3 separate regions of the Homo sapiens genome follow, and all the other regions are linked to region 1. Evidence: promoter capture Hi-C in 16 types of primary human blood cells and fetal thymus (Javierre and others, 2016). All regions are on one chromosome and are shown on one strand. Each heading gives the region's core, a stretch centred on a gene start or on the middle of the fragment in contact. The rest is flanking DNA. Distances are from core to core; before and after follow the strand shown. Region 1 holds the start of PRKCI (protein kinase C iota). Region 2 overlaps LOC105374211 (a long non-coding RNA gene). Region 3 overlaps LOC105374211 (a long non-coding RNA gene).

What was found. Contacts are between HindIII fragments. The CHiCAGO score rates a contact against its expected background, and 5 or more counts as called.
Region 2: a fragment that was not itself captured here is called in contact with the fragment with the promoter of PRKCI in region 1 in 1 of 17 cell types (erythroblasts); the score reaches 5.1 in erythroblasts.
Region 3: a contact is called between a fragment that was not itself captured here and the fragment with the promoter of PRKCI in region 1, in 1 of 17 cell types (naive CD8 T cells). The highest score is 5.2, in naive CD8 T cells.

The regions. Positions count from the first base shown.
Region 1 is chr3:170,221,003-170,223,734 of GRCh38, reverse strand. PRKCI (protein kinase C iota) reads right to left here and starts at 1,311. Exons shown (of 18, transcript NM_002740.6): 1 at 965-1,311. The coding sequence starts at 1,065. RefSeq lists a silencer at 951-1,240 and enhancers at 1,421-1,580, 1,591-1,650, 1,721-1,780. The HindIII fragment of the contact is 16,903 bases long and covers 1-2,732 here.
Region 2 is chr3:170,834,156-170,836,887 of GRCh38, reverse strand. All of the region lies in intron 2 of LOC105374211 (a long non-coding RNA gene), which reads right to left. Among named protein-coding and RNA genes, the nearest start is that of RPL22L1, 35 kb to the left of the region's middle. RefSeq lists an enhancer at 1,022-1,585. The HindIII fragment of the contact is 1,271 bases long and covers 707-1,977 here.
Region 3 is chr3:170,811,306-170,814,037 of GRCh38, reverse strand. The region is part of intron 2 of LOC105374211 (a long non-coding RNA gene); the gene reads right to left. Among named protein-coding and RNA genes, the nearest start is that of RPL22L1, 58 kb to the left of the region's middle. The HindIII fragment of the contact is 3,060 bases long and covers 1-2,732 here.

The DNA.
Region 1 (2,732 bases), core at 62-2,561:
AGTAAGGCAAGCCAAAGTAGCTGGGTTTTCTGTGACTTCTCAGTCTCCAACCTTTATGGTCACACTAACATTTCACGTTTCTAATGCTCCTAAACATAATTATCTCAAAAAAAAATTCAAACCACAACTGAATTTAAAGGAAGGGGGGCACTTTGCGTCACTGATAGAAAATGATTTAACACAATGAACTTAGAACTGGGTTTTTTCTTGTAACCATAGTAAGGGAGTGAAGATCAGAGAATTTAAAACTGTAACTAGGCTAGTCTCCTCACCTTGCAGTATCTCACCCTATCGGGTAGTCGTTGAAACAACACTGAGAAAGAAAGGCTCACAAAATTTTGATTTACACACATGCAACTTAATCTTGACGACACGTAAGTACCCACTGCACGTCCCTGAAAACGCATCGACTTGATTCTTAAATACAACCCCTATGTCTAATATACTGGCAGTGCAGATACACTACGTGAACACAACGGGGATGGAGGTATATCTCAGAGAACCAGAGGCGTTAGGCCTGCTGGTAATCAAAACGGACAGCTAACTGAAGAAGTCCCGTTTTCTATCCCCACAGCAAACTGAGTTAACTAAGGCATCACTTGGAATCCTCAACTCGCAACCCCAAATACACCCAGACTTAAGGATGCAAGGCCCCTACAAAGCTCTCAGGAGGCGAGTCTCTCGTCCACACCAGGTGCACCTACTCTAACCCTAGCTTCCTTCTCGGACCCTACTCTGGCCCCTCGGCTCCCCGCACCGCCATACCTGGGGGCGCCCCCAGTACTGCATCCCCTTGCTTCGCCCCCACCCCTATCACTTCGTCACTCACCCTGAGTCACCGGAGCCGCCCGCCCGCCCAGCCCAATCCGCCCACAACACCTCCAGCCCCTCACCCTCCCCTCCTCCAGGCCGAGTGGAGCCGGCCTGTCCCCTCCCGCCCACCGCCCTGTCCCAGGACACTCACCCGCGGTAGTAGGCTTTCACCCGGACCTGGTGGGAATGGTCCCCGCTGCCGCCGCCTGCGACCGTGTGGGACATGGTGCTGCTGTCCCTCTGGGTCGGCATCTCCTCACTCCCCCGCCTCAACGCTGGAGGCCGGGGGTGCGGGGGGGCGCTTCGGGCGCCGTGGGGGACTCCGCCGCCTGCGCTTGCCGGAGAACCGCGGCCGTCCGCCCACCTACCTGCCCACCTCGCCCGCAGCGCCGACCCAAGGGTCGCCTCGCCGGAGCAGCCGGAACCGCGCGGCTCCTCCCACTGCCCGTAGGCGCCGCCGCCTCTACAGCCGCCCGGGCCCAAGACACCTCCTGCGTCGGTCCCTCCCACTTCGCTCGCTCCAAAGGCCCACATTCCGGGGTAGGGCGGGCGCAACCATCCAGCCAGCTCAAGGAGCCTCAATACCGGGCTGAACCATCCTTACGGGGGCAGAGAAAGGGGACAGAGGGAATGGGAGACGCTGATCATGGCATCAAACACGCCGAGAGGGGTGCTTTCACGCGAGCTGTGAAAGAGACAATGACCAGCTCTAGATCACTAAAGTCTCTTCCCTGCAGGGACAATGGTAGGGACAAATTCTACGACACCTCACCCTAGCCTCGCAACTTGGTCACGTCTGCGGTCGGCCGACTTGGCACCCGGGATAGATTTGCGTGCAGGTTTCTGGGATTTGGAGTCCTCATAGGATTCTGGGACTTGAGGTTCCTTGCGCGTAGGGTGCCGCGCCTTCCCGCTGGTGAAGTCTGTCTCTCCAGCGTGCTCCCTGGAGCTGTCGGGGTGGAAAACCTGGATCCAGCTTGGGCATCTGAAGGTCCTGGAAATGACTGGGCTTCCTCACGTTCTAGACTTTATTAACTGATGAAGTCTCCCTTCTTCTAATTGCATAAATCGTCTGAATTATACATGTCTTTTGGGGGAACAAGAATTTGGTTACCTGCTCAGCATAACCTCTTTTATGGAAATAATTTAATAACATATGTAACAAATATAATAAAGGAAGAAACTCAACCAGAAAATATGATGAAAAACCGATTTTTCTTCTTTGGGGGCCCCCATATCTAGGCCCTTGTAGACTGCCCTTGCATGGAACAAGAGCCCAATGAATACTTACCCAATCAAGTCAGTCAATCCAAGAGCATTTCATTCTGTAAAAACTGGCTTACCAAAGATTAGAAAGAATCGTCCTTGGCCGGGCGCGGTGGCTCAAGCCTGTAATCCCAGCACTTTGGGAGGCCGAGGCGGGCGGATCACAAGGTCAGGAGATCGAGACCATCCTGGCTAACACGGTGAAACCCCGTCTCTACTAAAAACACAAAAAATTAGCCGGGCGTGGTGGCGGGCGCCTGTAGTCCCAGCTACTCGGGAGGCTAAGGCAGGAGAATGGCGTGAACCAGGGAGGCGGAGGTTGCAGTGAGCCAAGACTGTGCCACTGCACTCCAGCCTGGGCGACAGAGCAAGACTCTGTCTCAAAAAAAAAAAAAAAAAAAAAAAAAAAGAATCGCTCTTGTAACCTAGTCTTTGACTTTCCTAGGATCTTGGCTCTGACACATAATTTACACTGCAACTACAGGTAGCATGAATCCAGCCCCTGCAGCAGTCCTGGTGCTGAAAGAGTTGGAATAATCAAAGAAATAGCTTTCTTTACGATGATAAAATAGGCTTGGGGGACTGAGTCATCAGTTATGTGTGACACTTCAGCGTGGTACGACATCCTCCAACTGCTACAGACTTGGATTATA
Region 2 (2,732 bases), core at 93-2,592, 610 kb before region 1:
AGGTAGGGCTCATGTACGTGGAAGTTCTTTATACATTGAAACAAAAACATTTAAGAGACATCCTCAGGTGTAGAAACAAGGCATAGAACAAAGTGTAGTGAATGTTGCCATTTGCATTAAAAAACAGAGTATAAGAATATGTGTGTGTTGCTGGTTTATCCATAGCACACATCTGACAGCATACCAAACACTCTGGTAGCTCTCATGGCCTCAGGAAAGCTGGGGGTGAAGAACAAGGATGTGAAAGGGTTCTTTTCATTCCCTATCCTTTCATACAGTTTGATTTTTTTTTTTTTTTTTTTTTTTTAAGACAGAGTCTCCCTCTGTCGCCAGGCTGGAGTGCAGTGGTGTGATCTCGACTCACTGCAACCTCCACCTCCCAGGTTCAAGCGATTCTCCTGCCCCAGCCTCCCGAATATCTGGGATGACAGGTGCGCACCACCATGCCTGGCTAATTTTTTTTTTTTTTCTTAAGTAGAGATGGGGTTTCATCATGTTGACCAGGCTGGTCTCAAACCCCTGACCTCAGGTGATCCACCTGCCTTGGCCTCCTAAACTGCTGCGATTACAGGCGTGAGCCAATGCACCCAGCCTGAGTTTTGAACTATATGAATGTATTGTCTGTTCAAATGTAGATAAGTAAAATATGTTAAAACTTCTCATTAGTGAATGCGTTGTATTACTCCTTAACTTACATAATGAAGCTTTTCTCTTTATAACCCACTCCCTGTCTTTATCCTAAATTGTCCTATTAGCATACACAATAAAGGACCCCGGGGACTAAAAGGCATTCTTCTGACAAAATTGTTAATCGTAAATTTCAATTATCCACAGCCTGAATATGACACATCTCTGTCATGAAATCCTTCCATGTTATCTTCATTTTCATTTTATGTTGGGTAAAAACTAAGGGTTTGGGAGGGAGGGGCAGCAATTGCTTGTAGGTTTCAAACTCAGAGGCAGGGTTGGAGGAAAAAAAACCTAGGCTTTCCTTTTTTCTTTTCTTTCTGTTTTTTTTTTTTTTTTTTTTTTTTTTCAGAAGGAGGAAGCTCATTATGTTTGGATCACCCACAGCTATAGATTCTAAAAATATTTTGGCTTTTTTTGAGGTGCTTTAGTAAAATATAACCCCAAATGATTCACTTGGACAAGTGGTCTTAACAGCAAGGAAAACAAACACTTTATGAAAACAGCTATAAGCCTTCTGTCTTTTATCTTTACTATTTTCTCCGAGTCTGGCATGAAACAGATACACAGCAGCCTCCACAGGGGGTTAAGTAGAGAACCATCCAAGCATCACAGAGTGTCATCCAGAATTCTGATGACTTCCATTCGTTGACTCTGATGCACAATATGCCTGGCTTGGGATGCAGCGACCATGATGCCCCTCCCAGAACAGACACTTGCAGAGTGTTCCAGGAACAGCAGCTCCCTCCAGCCCCCAGCACAAGATGCACACATCTCAGAACAAGCCTCCATCCTTTTCCTAGAGAACTGAGCATAAATAACTTGTTCTATATCTGGCTCCAAGTCCATTTCTGTTCTGTCTTGGAGTAGAGTCTTAGCTCCCAGTTTGTTTTAGGTCAACTTTCAGCACCTACTTCAGCTCACTTGTTTGATTTACTAAGCTCTTGCTTCTGTATATTATCAAATGTAGGGATGTAGGGAGAATAAAAGGATCTAGATACTTGCTTTTAGGAGAGATTAGAACAAAGCTGAAGGTGGAGGCATTAGTTCCTAGGTCTTCAGATCTCAGAGCAAAGGACCCACTCTGGAGCCTAAATTCTATGAGAGACCACAGAGCAGCCTGAAATCCAAAGGAGTTTTACACAGGAAAAAAAAAATACTGTGAGGACTTACACTAAATAATAATGTTGTTTTGAATGGGGTTGTGGGTAATTCCTATATTCTTCTTTATAACTTTTGTACTTTTCAAATTCCCTAATGTGAACTCACTACTTAGTAGGTCTGTAAGCTTAAACATTACTATGGCTTGGAATCTCATTTCAAAAAATCTTTAAAATGGGGACAAGAGTAAAAATTTCTTAGCTTCTATGGAAGAATAAAATGAAATTATAATGATACAGTGCCTGGCATGTTGTGGTCGCTCAATAAACACTGCTTTCCTCCCCATTGTCCTCCTCTTTATTCTGTTTCATTACAAGGTCAGCAGATTGAATCAGGACCAGCTGGGAGGGCTACTTCTATGAGAGAAGATCTGTCCACAGTCATGGTTTTCAATGTTTAGTGCACCAGAATCACCTTGAGGGTTTGTTAAAACAGACTGCTGAACATAACACATCTATGAGAATGGCCAAAATCCAGAACACCAAATGCTGGTGAGGATGTGGAGCAATAAAAACTCTCATTTATTGCTGATGGCAATGCAAAATGGTACAGCCACTTTGGAAGACAATTTGCCAAATTTTTACAAAACTAAGTGTACTCTTACCATACAATCTAGCAATCATGCTCCCTGGTATTTACCTAAAGGAGTTAAAAACTTATGTCTAGACAGAAACCTGCATATGAATGTTTATAGCAGTTTTTTTCATAATTGCTAAACTTTGGAAGTAACCAAGATGCCCTTCAGCAGGTGAATGGACAAATAAACTGCAGTAGATGCAGACAGTGGAATATCATTCCATTCAAATGAGCTATCAGGTTGGTGCAAAAGTAATCGCGATGTTTGACATTATTTATATGGTTAATGGCAAAACCCACAATTACTT
Region 3 (2,732 bases), core at 68-2,567, 590 kb before region 1:
CATGTCCTCCTCTAAGATTTACAAATCAAAACTTTGACTTAAGGCATTTCCTCTACTTTTCTCTAGTTTCACTCTTACCTGGCTTAGTGAGACGTAATGTTTTTGCAGGTGGTCTGATGTCTGTTATTAAAGGGAAATGCAAGGTTCACAGTGAGAACCCGACACTGGTTTTAGCTCATTCCTTGCAGGAAGCCTGATTTTTCTCACTCAATTTTGTTGGTCAAAATTTAATGAAGGCTGTAAAATCCAATGCAGGATGAGAAACACAACATTCATTCCTGGGTACTCATAGACATTCATGGAGACACTTAGGAGCATCACTTGGGTAGACAGGAGCACGTTCTTCTGCCTGACTACATCTTCCCTACTGAAATGCTGGTTTCGAGTTCACATACCCAGAGATCACTGAAAGCCAGGCACTGGGGAATGGCTAGTAGGGAGAATAGTACAGGGGAAAACACTTCACCCGTGGGTATTCACGAGCTTCCCCAGGAGTGTTTTTAGATCAGAAGACAACTGGTGAATTTCCAGGAACAGCTGCTTCAGTGCTGCCACATCCGTCAGCTCTCAACACGTGTTAGTGTCTGTCCTCCCTCCTTCTTTGGAATTTAGAACTGTGCCATGGTCTGGTTGCAGGAATCTCATTAAAGAGCTTCCCTTTCTGTATTAGTTTGCTAGGGCTGCCATTAACAAAATACCAGAGACTGGATGGCTTAAACAACAGAAATGTGTTTTCTCACAGTTCTGGAGGTTGGAAGTCCAAGATCATGGTGTGATCAGGTTGGTTTCTGGTAAGGCCTCTCTTCCTGTTCTTTGTAGACAGCCACTTTATTCCTGTGTCCTCACATAACCCTTTTTCTGTGAGCACGCAAGGAAAGAAATTTCTGGTGTCTCTTCTCCTTCCTATAAGAACCCCAGTCCTTCAGATTATAGACCAACCCTTAGGACCTCACTTAATCTTAATTACCTCCCTAAAGGCTTGAACTCCAAAAACAGTCACATTGGGAATTAGGAGTTTAACATCAGAATGGGCTTGGGGACTGGGAGAGTAGTTCAGTACTTTAACGCTTTCCCTGACAGAAAATTTTGTGATCACCTACTACATGTTGGGCCCTGTGCCACATGCTGGGGATAATAATTTATAAAAATGTTTCAACCCCTGCCTCAAGGAGCTCCTCCTCTGGGGACTGAGTCTGCAGCCATCAGAGGAGTGGGGTCACAATGAGATGTCTGGAAATGGACCTCTGTGGTAAGTGGGGATTCCTGCATGGCTTTTGCTATGATCGTATCTCAAGAAAGCAAATTCTGCAAATATTCTGAGTGGGTGGTAGTAGAGCTATTTTCTTGATGTGGCAGAGTCGCATACAAAAGCCCTTAAAGGGATCAATGAGACGAATTTCTGAGCTAGTCTGAAACAAGAACTGGGGATGAACTTTGGCAATTGGGCCAGAACTTAAACACAGGATTTTGCTGGGGTCCCAAGGTTCTGCCCATTTGGGACAATCTCTTTCACATGCGCCACACCATTCCCCTTACCACGCCAGCAGATTCAAAGAGGCAGCTTGGTACGTTTTGGTAGGTTTTGGGAGTGAGAAGGCCTGGGGTGGGGGTTGCGGCAAGAGGAGAGCAGCAACCCCTCTCACATTATCAGCTGTGCAGAACCAAGGAGAACCTAAGAAGATCCGCCAAACAGAAAAAGCTGAGATTATGCTTCACAGACCCAAAGACTTTTAAGCTCTTTATTAGCTGCAACAGAATCACCACATGGCAGTACAAAAATGTTCTTGAACTTGACACTTGAACTTGGCTGCAACCCTGCTGGTAAAACTTAGTAATTAGGCAAACAAAAAGCTGGGGAGTGCAATTACGGCCATTGAACCACTAGGGGGCACTCATGGTTTCTCATTCAGAAGAGGAGAGGGGAGGAGGAGGTTATAGGGCTATGGCTTAGGGTGGGGCATTCAGTGTGGTATTGGAGAGGGATGAAAGTTAAAGCTGTTTTGTGTGTTTGTTTTTTGGAGGGAGAGGTGTTAAAGACCTAGTTATTTCGCTAATAATATAGTATGCATTAACCTGGCCTTGACTTCTGTGAAGCTAGCGGGCCCAATAGACTAGCTGGTGGAGAGTTCTGGAGTGTGACATCCCAAACAAATAATTGTTCACTTTAAGATAACTTTCTTTCGTGGGCATTAGAAAAAGGGCATGTTTTGCATCACGAGGGAGAGCGTTTTACGCGCATGCACACACATACTAAACAGACACACCTACTGACTTAAAAACATCAACACACTGTCTGAATATTGCTTCAGGTTGGAAAACAAGGTTGCATCCAAATTGTGTCATCTTTTCAAAATACAGCTGGAGAGAAAATGCTGCCTATATTTCAGGGAGCTTTTAAATTTCAGTGACATACCAGTCTAGGCTGCCAAAAGCTAGAAGAACATGAGTCATCAAGCTAGGTGCACTGATCATAGGAAACACCAGGTCTCAGGCTCCAGCCATCCCCTATCCTCTTCCCTACCCCTACACAAATTTGTGGCTTGTGGCCAGTACCAGGATTTGCTGTTAGTCCCCATGTTCCCGGGGCCTCCTTTCCTCTAAGGTCTTCCAGCCATTGTAACTGGCTTTCTTCCCTTTTATACCTAATAGAGAACTGCTGAGGGCCTTCTTCTTTGTATTTGGGATTATCGGATCAAAAGATTGAAAGTGTGATTGCCAGGTTCTCCCAGAGC